2 separate regions of the Homo sapiens genome follow, and region 1 is linked to region 2. Evidence: promoter capture Hi-C in 16 types of primary human blood cells and fetal thymus (Javierre and others, 2016). All regions are on one chromosome and are shown on one strand. Each heading gives the region's core, a stretch centred on a gene start or on the middle of the fragment in contact. The rest is flanking DNA. Distances are from core to core; before and after follow the strand shown. Region 1 overlaps LHFPL5 (LHFPL tetraspan subfamily member 5). Region 2 holds the start of TEAD3 (TEA domain transcription factor 3).

The links. The method cuts DNA at HindIII sites, captures the fragments that hold promoters and counts their contacts. A CHiCAGO score of 5 or more calls a contact.
Region 1: a fragment that was not itself captured here is called in contact with the fragment with the promoter of TEAD3 in region 2 in 1 of 17 cell types (M1 macrophages); the score reaches 5.4 in M1 macrophages.

Annotation. Positions count from the first base shown.
Region 1 is chr6:35,809,335-35,815,719 of GRCh38, reverse strand. It overlaps LHFPL5 (LHFPL tetraspan subfamily member 5), which reads right to left. Exons shown (of 4, transcript NM_182548.4): 2 at 938-1,174. Among named protein-coding and RNA genes, the nearest start is that of LHFPL5, 7.2 kb to the right of the region's middle. The HindIII fragment of the contact is 603 bases long and covers 2,959-3,561 here.
Region 2 is chr6:35,492,793-35,498,328 of GRCh38, reverse strand. It overlaps TEAD3 (TEA domain transcription factor 3), which reads left to right and starts at 1,250. Exons shown (of 13, transcript NM_003214.4): 1 at 1,250-1,431. It overlaps TULP1 (TUB like protein 1), which reads left to right. Exons shown (of 15, transcript NM_003322.6): 15 at 1-455. The coding sequence ends at 2. LOC124901309 (a long non-coding RNA gene) reads right to left here and starts at 196. Exons shown (of 2, transcript XR_007059561.1): 1 at 122-196. RefSeq lists enhancers at 1-343, 344-1,274, 2,221-3,006, 5,432-5,536, 5,503-5,536 and silencers at 743-1,072, 1,083-1,212, 1,393-1,442. The HindIII fragment of the contact is 26,537 bases long and covers 1-5,536 here.

The sequences.
Region 1 (6,385 bases), core at 2,011-4,510, 320 kb before region 2:
TCCCTTTTGGGCTTCAAGTTCCTCATGTGGGAAGAGTCCTTGGTTATAGTGCACAGAGGAGTTTGGCTGCTGCTTCTAATCCAAGGGCTAATGTGAAGACAGCTATGGGGAAAAGAGACTGGAGAGGTTTCTGAGGTGTAACAGGTCCCCAGTGATGGCCACCTGCTGAGATCAGGCATTTGGGGATTCACAGGGGTGCAAGACAGGCCTTGCCCTTGACTTGGGGAAGAAATTTATGCTCTGAAAAATTAGCCCAAGACAGGCAGGGGAAGAGCCCAATGAGAAACAGAAGCAAAAGGCACCCTAGGAAGAAGGGAGTAATGGGAAGCAATCAGGGAGGGCTTCCTGGAGGATGTGCTTGGGCCTCAAGGATCAGCTACAGCTGACTTTTATGACTGACAGGTAGGATTTGGATGGGAGGGAATTGAAACAGGACGAACATTACGAGAATCCCAAGGCTGCTGTTCCTCCAGGGATCTCGGGCTCCCACCAGCTGCACTGCAGGAGCTGTCACTTCTGCACCCTCATTGGCCTGTTCTCAAGGTCGCACTCCCTCCCCAGCAACTCATCTGCTGTTGTTCCCCATCTCCACCAACAAACTTCCAGGAATATTACTTCGAGACCCCGCCTCAGTGCCTCCTTCTAGGGGAGACCACACTTAGCCCCCAAGGCTGGATTGCAGCTCTCTCCCCTATAGCCTCTGAGAGTGTAGAGGGGTGAGGGGGACATTCCTTTATCACAGATCGCCTTATCACCTGCTAGCTTGCAACCCTCCACTGGCCTTTGATTTCAGGGAGGACAAGGGGTGTGTCTGATTAGTCTTGGTGTCCCCATCCCTTGGCCAGGGACCAAGCCTTAGAGGACTGGCTAAGATGAACCCCCACCCACATCCCAGGGTCTCCAGGCAGGGGACACCATTGTGGAGTTGGGTGATTACCGGTTCCATCTGCCTTGTAGTCGTCAGGGAGGAGCTTGTCCTGCCGGTAGCCCAACACGAAGGCCAGGAAGGAGAGGATGAGGGCGTCGCCAATGCTGAGGATGGCCAGCATGAAGGCCCAGCGGATGGTGCAGTGGCCCAGCGTGTACTTGCCCGTCTGCTCCCCACACATGCGCCGCACCTCACTTGAGTCCCAACCATCAGGGTAGACCAGGCAGCCAATCATTAGGCCTGTGGCTGAGGGGGAAGGAGGGGTGCACATGGCATCAGGCCGAGTGTGCCTAGCCCGCTACCTCCCACACCTTGCACTGCTGTTATGTTGTCACCTCCCTTCTCCTTCTGTTAACAGCCTCAGGAGGCATGAGAGGCAGCCTCTACCATCCTTCTTGCAGAACACAGGTGAGAAAACTGAGGCTCTGAGAGTTAAAGCAACTGGCCCCCGAGACCCAGTAGTTGGGGCGGAGGCAGAGCTGAGCTCCTAAGCCCAGGCCGGCTCTGCCACCACACCAGGTGGTCCTCCCAGGCCTTCAGCCATTCTCCTCACCTTGGACTCAACCAGGCACCACCTACCCTGGCTTCAAAGCCCTCCGGTATCTAGTCCCAGCCCAAAGAACTCATCACTGCTGAGATGTACATTTCTTCGTACTTACAACATCTGTGAAATAAGCTCAATAAGAAAGTGTCTAGCCTGGGGGTGGTGGCTCACACCTGTAATCCCAGCACTTTGGGAGGTCGAGGCGGGCAGATCACCTGAGGTTGGGAGTTTGAGACCAGCCTGACCAACATGGAGAAACCCTGTTCTCTACTAAAAATACAAAATTAGCAGGGAGTGGTGGTACATGCCTGTGATCCCAGCTACTGGGGAGGCTGAGGCAGGAGAGTAGCTTGAACCCTGCAGGCAGAGGTTGCGGTGAGCTGAGATCACACCATTGCACTCCAGCCTGAGCAACAAGAGCGAAACTCCGTCTCAAAAAAAAAAAAAAAAAAAAAGGAAAAGGAAAAAGAAAGTGTCAGGCCATGGCCAGATTATCAGTATATTTTGTTTTTATGGTACATAGAATAACAGTGTGTCCTACAACTCAGGTATCTTAGATTTAATGTATACAGGAAGGCTTTCCAGACTGTCCCTGGCTGCTTCCTTCAAAAGCCTTCCATTCAAGCAAACAGGTTTCCTCCTCACTCTTACCCAGTACAGCATAGTCCAGTTGCTACACGTCCCTAAATTTAAGAATCCCCTGGAGGCCGGGTGCGGTGGCTCACGCCTGTAATCCCAGGACTTTGGGAGGTCGAGGTGGACGGATTACAAAGTCAGGAGATCGAGACCATCCTGGCTAACACGGTGAAACCCCGTCTCTCCTAAAAATACAAAAATTAGCCGGGCATGATGGTGGGCGCCTGTAGTCCCAGCTACTCGGGAGGCTGAGGCAGGAGAATGGTGTGAACCTGGGAGGCGGAGCTACAGTGAGCCGAGATGGCGCCCCTGCACTCCAGCCTGGGCAACAGACCAAGACTCCATCTCAAAAAAAAAAAAAAAAAAAAAAAATGCTAGTTCCTAGGTCATGGTTGGGTTCAATAATCCCTGTTTTCAAAAGCACTCTTCCAGGTGATTTTCTCAGTAGGAAAAGCTGGGAAACACTAGACTAGGCTGCCTGGATTTCAAACCCAGTTCTCTGCTACCTAGCTATGTGACTCAGAGCAAGCAACTTAAGCTTTCTTTTCTTTTTTTTTGAGACAGAGTCTTGCTCTGTCGCCCAGGCTGGAGTGCAGTGGCACGATCTCGGCTCACTGCAACACCCGCCTCCCGGATTCAAGTGATTCTCCTGCCTCACCCTCCTGAGTAGCTGGGATTACAGGCATGTACCACCATGCCCGGCTAATTTTTGTATTTTTCATAGAGACGGGGTTTTGCCACGTTGGCCAGGTTGGTCTTGAACTCCTGGGTTCAAGTGATCCGCCGGCCTTGGCCTCCCAAAGTGCTGGGATTACAGGCGTGAGCCACCGTGCCCAGCCATACTTAAGCTTTGTTTGCCTCAGTTTCCTCATCTACAAAATGGACATAATAATAACCCTAACCTTCCTGTTGTGGTTACAGCAAGGTTCAAATGAGTTAATACTGGAAAAGAGTGTAGAACAGTGCCTGGCACAGACTTGGCACTCCATAAGAGTTGACTGTGAGAGTTATTATCACACCCTGTGCCTTACTTGACTTATTATTTACAGCTAAAAATTCTGTTGCCCCCACTTTCCCCCCACTTCTTCCATCCCTTTCCATCAAACCATCCCCTCACCTTAGCTTTGCTGGGGTGAAGCAGAGACAGGTGACATAATCCAGGATGCAACTGGGGCAGCCAGCCCCAGGCACAGCTGCCCCACGGGCAGGGGGTGCTCCCCTTATCTGTGCCACTTTCCCACAGGTCTGGAGGCTCTCTAGTCCCAAGGTTGTACCCTACTCAGGAGACCCTCAGAAAAGCACCTCTTCAGGCCTAAAGTTACCTTCCCTGCTTCCAGCTTGTTCTACAAAGAAGGTCAGGAGGTCAAACAAATGCACAGTAAATGGAAAAATCAGGGTCCCACCTCCCCACCTAAATGTATCACGCTTCCTTTGATCTTTTTTAGGAGAAGCTTATTTAGATAGTTCTTTATAGATCACAAAATACTTCATGTACCATCTTGACTGTGATCACCTTTCTGTGAAGTGGGCTGGCTATTAATATCCTCATTTTACAGATTAGAAAACTGAGGGCTCAAAGAAACCAAGTGACTTACCAGCCATCCAGTCATCCAGCTATGACAGGGCCAAGGCCTGAGTTCTCCATTCCTGACTTTCCTGACTTCAAAGTTTATTCCCTCCACCCCCAGAACATGACATCTCTCCCAGGGGCTGAATGTAATTAGCGGTGACATTTCAGACTTCCTACGTGTTCAGTGAAAACTAAGTGTTCAGGAAGATACCCACGGTGGAGGAGAGGGAGCCATCCACAGCTCCGTGGTGAAACCTACGTAGCCAGCCCTTCCCCGACTTGATGTGAGTCCAGCCCTCCAGTGCCTGGCAGGGCCCCTGGCTTCATGGGCAGAGGTGAAGGTGGGAAGGAGCTGCCCTTCCAGGCTTTGCATTCTCTCCATCACTTCCTCCCGTGGCCCCTCCCCTCCTGCACCATCTTCCTGTGGGGGCTCCGGAAAAAAGCCCAGGGCCTCTGACCTGGAAACAGGGTGTTGGTGCCACAGTCCCCTGCGAGCACTCTACCCATCCACCCACGGTTCTGGGGACAGTGGGTGTCAGCCCCAGTTGTGGCATCTCAAGGCTCTAAGCAGAAGCCAGCACAGTGTTCTCAGGCCAGGTTACTTACCCTCTCTGACTTCCGTCCTGTTGTCTGTAAAGTATCTGACTCATAGCAGCACTGTGAGGATTAAGTGTGATCATTTACAGAAAACGCTTACTATGATGTCTTGTACATGGAAAGTGGCCAATTAATGTTAGTCACTGCTATTATTATTGACATTGGAGTCAGACAGAAGCCACCTCAGTGACATGGATGCCATTAGAGCTGCTCACGAATATTCCAGGTGCAAGGCAAGGTTGTACTTCCTTGCTCCGCTCTCTTGAGGTTAAGTGAGGCCATCTGCCTTCCTCTGGCCAATGACATGTGAGCAGAGATGTGTGTATTTCCGGGCCACAGCACTTAGCTGCAGTGGGAGACCTCCCAGAGTTCCCTTCCCTCTGATGCGAGGACAGCTGATGGTGACTGATGCCACTAGCGAGGGTCCCAGGAGACAACAGTGAGAGCGGAGCCCCCACCGATCCCCGGTTGGCACGGACCATAAGCAAGAAATACATAAACCGTTGTTCTAAGCCACCAAGATTTGGGAGTGGTTTGTTACTACGGCATCACTTCTCATGCTCACTGATATAGTTGTTTCTTGTGTTTTTCTTTTCTTTCTTTTTTTTTTTTTTTTTTGAGACGGAGTCTCACTCTGTCGCCCAGGCTGGAGTGCAGTGGCGCGATCTTGGCTCACTGCAAGCTCTGCCTCCTGGGTTCACGCCATTCTCCTGCCTCAGCCTCCCAAGTAGCTGGGACTACAGGCGCCCGCCACCAAGCCCAGCTAATTTTTTATTTTTGTATTTTTTTGTATTTTTTGGGGGGATTATCCCCTGCCCACAGGGCAGCTGTGCCTGGGACTTTCCCAGTTGCATCCTGGATTATGTCACCTGTCTAATTTTTTTGTATTTTTTTGTAACACGGGGTGTCACTGTGTTAGCCAGGATGGTCTCGATCTCCTGACATCATGATCCACCCACCTCGGCCTCCCAAAATGCTGGGATTACAGGCTTGAGCCACCATGCCCAGCCTGTTTTTTGTGTTTTTCACAGGTACTGAGCACTTACCATGTGCAAGGTGTTTTACATGCATTCTATTATCCCATCTTCACAGAACCCCCCTGAAGTGGGTACTGCTGCTATGTTCTACAGATGGGGTACAGTGGAATGTTTGTTCCTCCCAGATTTCCTGTGTTGAAATCCTAACCTCCAGTGTGATGGTGTTAGGAGGTGGGGCCTTTGGGAGGTGATTAGGTCATGAGGGTAGGGCCCTCCACGAATGGGATTGGAACCCTTATAAAAGGGACCCCAGAGGGGAGCGGGGGCAGCTAAAGGTTGGTTAATGGATACAAAAGTATAGCTAGACAGGAGGAGTAAGCTCTAGTGTTCTTTAGCACTGTAGAGTGAGTATAACCAACAGCAATCTATCGTATATTTTCAAATAGCTGGAACAGCAAATTTGAAATCGTCCCAACTCAAAGAAATGTTTTAAGTGTTTGAGGTGATGGATATGCTAATTACCTTCATTTTCTCAGTAGGAAAAGCTAGGAAACATTAGATCAGGCTGCCTGGATTTCAAGCCCAGCTTGTATACATGTATCGAAATATCACACTGTAGCCCATAAATATGTACAATTATTATGTCAATTAAAAACAATAATAAGGCCGGGTGCGGTGGCTCACGCCTGTAATCCCAGCACTTTGGGAGGCTGAGGCAGGCAGATCGCCTGAGCTCAGGAGTTCCAGACCAGCCTGAGCAACATGGTGAAACCCCATCTCTACAAAAAATACAAAAATTGGCTGGGTGTGCTGGCATGCACCTGTAGTCCCAGCTACTCGGGAGGCTGAGGAGGGAGGATCACTTGAGCCTGGGAGGTCAAGGCTGCAATGAGGTGTGTTCATGCCATTGTACTCCAGCCTGGGTAAAAATAATCATTTTTGAGACCTTGACTCAATAATAATAATCATCAATGCAAATAAATACATAAAAGGGACCTCAGAGAGCCCTGTCATCCTCTTTTCACCATGTGAGGACATCAAGAAGTCAGCAGTCTAGAGCCTAGAAGAGGCCTTCATCAGAGATCTCGTGCTAATGCCATGCCGGCACCCAGATCTCAGACCTCCAGGCTCCA
Region 2 (5,536 bases), core at 1-2,500:
GACCCCAGCAGCCCCTCAGCGCCCCCAGAGCCCGTCAGCGTGGGGGAAAGGATTCAGTGGAGGCTGGCAGGGTCCCTCCAGCAAAGCTCCCGCGGAAAACTGCTCCTGTGTCGGGGCTGACCTCTCACTGCCTCTCGGTGACCTCCGTCCTCTCCCCAGCCTGGCACAGGCCGAGGCAGGAGGAGCCCGGACGGCGGGTAGGACGGAGATGAAGAACATCTGGAGTTGGAGCCGCACATCTGGTCTCGGAGCTCGCCTGCGCCGCTGTGCCCCCCTCCTCCCCGCGCCCCAGTCACTTCCTGTCCGGGAGCAGTAGTCATTGTTGTTTTAACCTCCCCTCTCCCCGGGACCGCGCTAGGGCTCCGAGGAGCTGGGGCGGGCTAGGAGGAGGGGGTAGGTGATGGGGGACGAGGGCCAGGCACCCACATCCCCAATAAAGCCGCGTCCTTGGCCAAGCGGAGCGGTGGTTCCTCAGCGCGTGCGGAGAACGAGGCGGCAGGAGGCGTCCGAGGCGCGAGCTGGAAGTCTCAACCCCCGTCCCACTCCTGCCCAGGCCCCGGGCGCTCCCGCGTCCCCTCCCCGCGCCCGTCGCGGGTCCTACCGAAACTCGGCGGCCGCACAGCGTCGAGACGCCCCCCGTGGGGGCCCGGGGAGCCGGGGCGAAAGGGAGGGTCCCGGAGGTCGGGGAAGAGGGAGAAAGGGAGAAGAAATTCGAGAAACTAGCCACGCGGGGAGAACCAGACAAACCGGGTCCCGGCAGGGCGGGCGCAGCCGCCAGGGCGGAGCCGGGTCTGGGGCCCCGGGAGTGGGGGGCAGGCCCGCGAGCTGGAGGGTACGCTCCGCCTTGGCGGCTCGGGACTAGGGTGGAGGGGCCGGGAGCCCCGGGGCCCGTGCGCTCCGGCTCTGCCGGGCTCCTCGTGACGCGGCACCCACGGCCCCCGGCACCGACGGGAGCCCTGCCCGCGAGGCGAGGGCTCCGCCCTCGGCCCCGCCCCAGGCCGGAGCCCCAAATTCCGGCGGGTGCCCGGGAGCGGGGCGAGGCCCGGAGCGCAGGGGGAGGAAGGCAGCTCCGCACGGGCGGGCGAGGAGCGGGGCGCCCAGGCGCGCGCCAGCCGGGGTGGCCGGGTCGCGAGGCCGCGGGGTAGGCGGCCCGAGCGCGGCTGGACGGCCCCGCCCCTCCCGGCCAGCACCGCCCCCTGCGCGCCCCGCCCCCTCCTTCCCGCAGCCCCCACCCCCGCCCCGGCTCCTCAACACAAACTTTCCGTCCCGCTCGCTCCCTCCTCCGCGCTCGGCGCCTCCCGCTCCAGCCCGGCTCATTCCGCACATTCCGGCCAGCCCCCTCCCCACGACCCCCCTTCCCCGGCCCCCCTTGCGGCTCCCTCGGGCCCGGCGGAGCGGCCCGGCCGGAGCGCCCCCGCGAGCTCGGACCAGGTAAGCCGGGCGGACGCCGGGAGGAGGCCCCGCTCGGGAGAGGTGGTTTGGTTGGTCGGCTGGGCTGGCTGGGGGGGCGACACTCGAGGGGGACTGGGTCCCCGAGCTATTGTCCAGCCGGAGCTGGAGCCCCGGATCGGGGTGCCGGGAAGTTTAGAGGGAAGGGGGAAAATCTCTCCGGGAAGCCCCGCCCCCCGCCCTCCCCACCCCCCCGCGACGGGGACGAGTTGGTCCGGGAAGGTGGGGAAGCCGGGGAGACCGTGTCCCCTGTGCCGTCGCCTGTCCCGCCGTCCGTGCTTGGGGGGTCGGGGCGGGGATCCGGGGGCCGCACAGTGTGGAGGGCCTGCCTGCCACCCTGGAGCTCATATCCGGGGCGCCCAGTCCCGGGCCCCGCCGCCCTTTGGACTCCCGGCCCGCGCGCTCCCGGAGCCCGCCCGGCCTCAGCTCCACGCAGGCCTCGGGCCCGGCCTCCCAGCGCCCAGGCCGGTTTCTGCGCGCGGTGCCGCGGCTGCGCTGGGTTGTGGAGGGTGTCTGGGACCAAAGCCGCGCGCCCCGGCCGTGTGTCCCCTGAGAGGCAGGGAGGGGCTCACGTTCCCTTCAGTTCTGCCGCCTGCGTCGGGGTGCTGATTCAGAGTTCCAGCCCTGAGCGCTGTGAGCTTGGCTCGGAGGGGTCTGGATTTGGGGCCTTTTCTTCCCCACACTTGCTCAGGGCCCTTGTTTAGACTTGACAAGGTTTGAGGGTGGCTGGTCTCCCGCTTCCTACCCCGGTCCCCACCATTGTCTGTCATGCCCTTTATTCCTGCTAGGGGAGGGAGGGCTGGGAGCGCTGGTCTGGATCTGTTTTCCAGCCCAGCTGGGCCCTGGGGCAGTGTCATTGAGACCCCGCTCTGTCAACTTTCCTGGTGAGGGGCCCTGATCCAGGGCTGAGAGATTCTTTCAGTGCGAGGGGGAAGGAGGCCTTGGGGCGGACTTCTCAGGGGCTGTCTTCTTCTGTGTCTTCCCTCTTTCCAGGTAGGGGCAGAACCAGGTCAGGCCTGGACTTGTTGTCCGGAAGAACAGGGCATAGGGGTAGGGGCTGGACACAGCTCAGAGGGGCTGGTGCCCATAGCGGCTCTGCGTATCCAGTCTCTTGTGGCCTGGTTCTCTGTACACATGTTCCACCCCAGTGCTGGGGCCACCTGGGGCAAGGAGGGGAGGCTTTCCTCAAAAGTTGGAGATTTGGGGGAATTATGTCCTCTCCCTTCTAGACTCCTGTAGCCCCCCTCCCACCAAGACCCCTCTCGTAGGGGCACTCCCTAAAGGATGTGGTTCTGTGGTCTTCTGGGTCCCTGCTCACCCAGTGGGCAGAGTGCACAGATCTTCCAGGACAAGGCTGTCCAGTAAGGGTAACTTCAGGGGCCCTGGATGCCCCCTCCTCAGGGAGAGGGTAGGAGCCAGTATGAGTCCCAAGCTCTTGGGCCTTCCCCTACCCCCCCAGGGAGGGAACGTCATTAATGCTAATGAGCGCATCTGGGCTGGGGAATGGCTTGTTAGAGTGGTCAGTGGTTGCCAGGACAGAGCAGCACATTAAGTGTACAGAAGCATCACATGGGTCCTGAGCCCTGCTCCCATCCTCACCCAAAGGTTTGTAGACCCTGGCACTTTCTGCCAACTGAAGGAATGTTAAAACCGGGAGGATTTGATATTCTCAACAATATCAAAGGAGAAGATATCTCAACAGAGGTGGTCAAGAAATAGGGATCTGGTCCCCTCCGGACCTTTAACCAGTTGCGCCATCTTGGCAGGCCCCTTTGGGCCTCAGTTTCCCTGCTTGGAATGAATGACTTCTCAAGTCCCTTTTCTCTGAGCTCCTCCCAGAGTCTGTCTCCCAGTTTGCCTTCCTTCTCCCATGATGGAACCTGAACTTGGTGGGGTCTGGAGAGGCGGGTGGGTGATCCAGTGGCCCAAAGAAGAAGGCAAGGACAAACCAAGGGGTGACTGAGGAGTAGCTCAGCCAGATGAACAGGGCTGAAAAGGTGGCGGGGGGCAGGTGTCAAGGGACAGGGGGGCTTGGTGGATTGGGGGATCTTGCCTCTGAAGTGGTCATGGGTTCTGTTAGGGCTGAATGGCACAAAGGGTGCTCAGAGGCCGCTTGGGTGGCTCTACCCTCTGCCCCACTCCCAGACACCTGTGGGGGTCCCAGGGCTCAGTGTGGAAATCGCTGGTCCTGCCCTCCTCCTCCTCCCCGCCCAGGATGGGGAGAGGAGCCCAGGGGTCTAAACGCTGCAGCTTTCTGTGAAGGGGCTAGGAGGTCGCAGCCTCTTCTTCCCACATGGGGGCTGCAGAAGCTGTGGGGTCCCAGGGGTGGCCCTGAGGATCTGCCTCTGGGTAGAGCTGGGGAGGTCAGCAGGTCACACTCGGCACTGTCCCTGGGGCCTTGCCCTGCCTTCCCTCCCCTCCCCTCCTGGTGTTGTGCCAGCCCTGGGCTGTCTGCAGAAGGGGCCACTTCCCTCCAGGGAGAACCCTGCCAGGGAAAGGGCTCTGCCTGTCTTCCCCGACCCACAGGAGGTTGAGGTTAGGGCCAGAGAGGTTCATCCCCCTGCACATCCCTAAAGCCTCAGCCCTTGGGGTTTCCTAGAGTGCCGATTGTTTCCTGTGCTCCCTGCCAGGCCTGAAAGGGCAGGAAGTGTTAGAGGGAAATGAGAATGCAACTGTGTGTGACGCTGGATGTGTGTGAGAGAAGCCATGAGTGGGACATTCTATGTGGGTGAGACTTGTCTTCTGTGGGGCTGGATGTGTGTGGAAGAGAACCTTGGTCAGAGCAACTTGTGCAGGGCTGGGTGTATGCAGGAGAGAAACTGTGGCTTTGTGACATTCGTGTGTGTGACAGATATACACGTCCATAAGAGAAACTGGGTGACTCTTCATGTGTCCAGGTGTGCCGCCACCTCTGTACCTGAGAACCTGCATGGGGGATGTTCTGTGTGTGCCAGGGCATCACCCAGGATGTGCCGATGAAGGAAGCTGGCTGCCTAGCCATCTGTGTGTACCTGGAGATGACACTGGGTGTGGCTCTGATGCTCAAGTGACCTGCGTGTGAAGGACACCGCACTCGCACGATGCTGTGTGTATGTGAGCGCGCGGGCGCGTGTGCGTGAGAAGCCGGATGAGTGGCGATCTGTGTGATGTGTTACGCTGTGGTGTGACCACTTGTGACCTGCATGTTGTGACGCAGCATGTGAGATGGCCTCAGGTTTGTCTGTGTGTGACTTACATGTGACACTACATGCGAGTAAAACAACATGACCAGCTCTGTGTCAGTATGATGTGTGTACCAGCAAGGTGGGCCCCATCCGACATGTGCCAAGCATGAATATGGTATGCGGTGTGTGGGTGACACTGAGCACCAGAAAGCGACACCGTATGTGAGAGAAACCGTGGGGCGTGACTGATGCTGGCGCTGTGGGTGGGTGGTCACTATCTGAGCGTGTTTGGGACTCTCGGGTAGTGTGGGTGACACCCCCAGGGCTGTGCCAGGCAGGGCGTGTAGGAGGCTCTGTGGGATGCTTTTGGGGGCCTGTGGTCCCTGACGTGTGGCATCTATGTGGAAGACAATGAGAAAGACACTGATAAAAACAAAGAAGGAATGTAATTAATGCCTCTCAATTGTACACTTAGAAATGGCTAAAATGGTAAACTTGATGTTATGTATATTTTATCACAATAAAGACATTTTTAAAAACCCAGCAGGAGAGAGATGCGGGTAACAGTGAATGAGCAGGACAGTGGCTGTGACGCAACTGTGTATGCGAGCGAGAGGAAGGGCGCAGAGGAAACCTATTTGTTCTTAGATGACACCGTGACTCTCATGAGGGCACTGACTGAGTGGCTGGTGGGAGCCCAGTGGGCGACCCAGAGTACCAGGAGTCTGGCATGGTAACTGAGAACTGAGAAACCCAGTGACCCCCTATAGTCTGTCTCTCACTGGATACCTGAGATTCCCACCCTGGGACCAGGACAAGATGAGGAGATAAGTCAGTCCCAGGGAGGGGGTGAAGGGAGGTCTGGAAACTGGGCCCTTCTCTCTACAGGGGACTTGAGGGCTGAGTCTCCACCCTCCTACCCG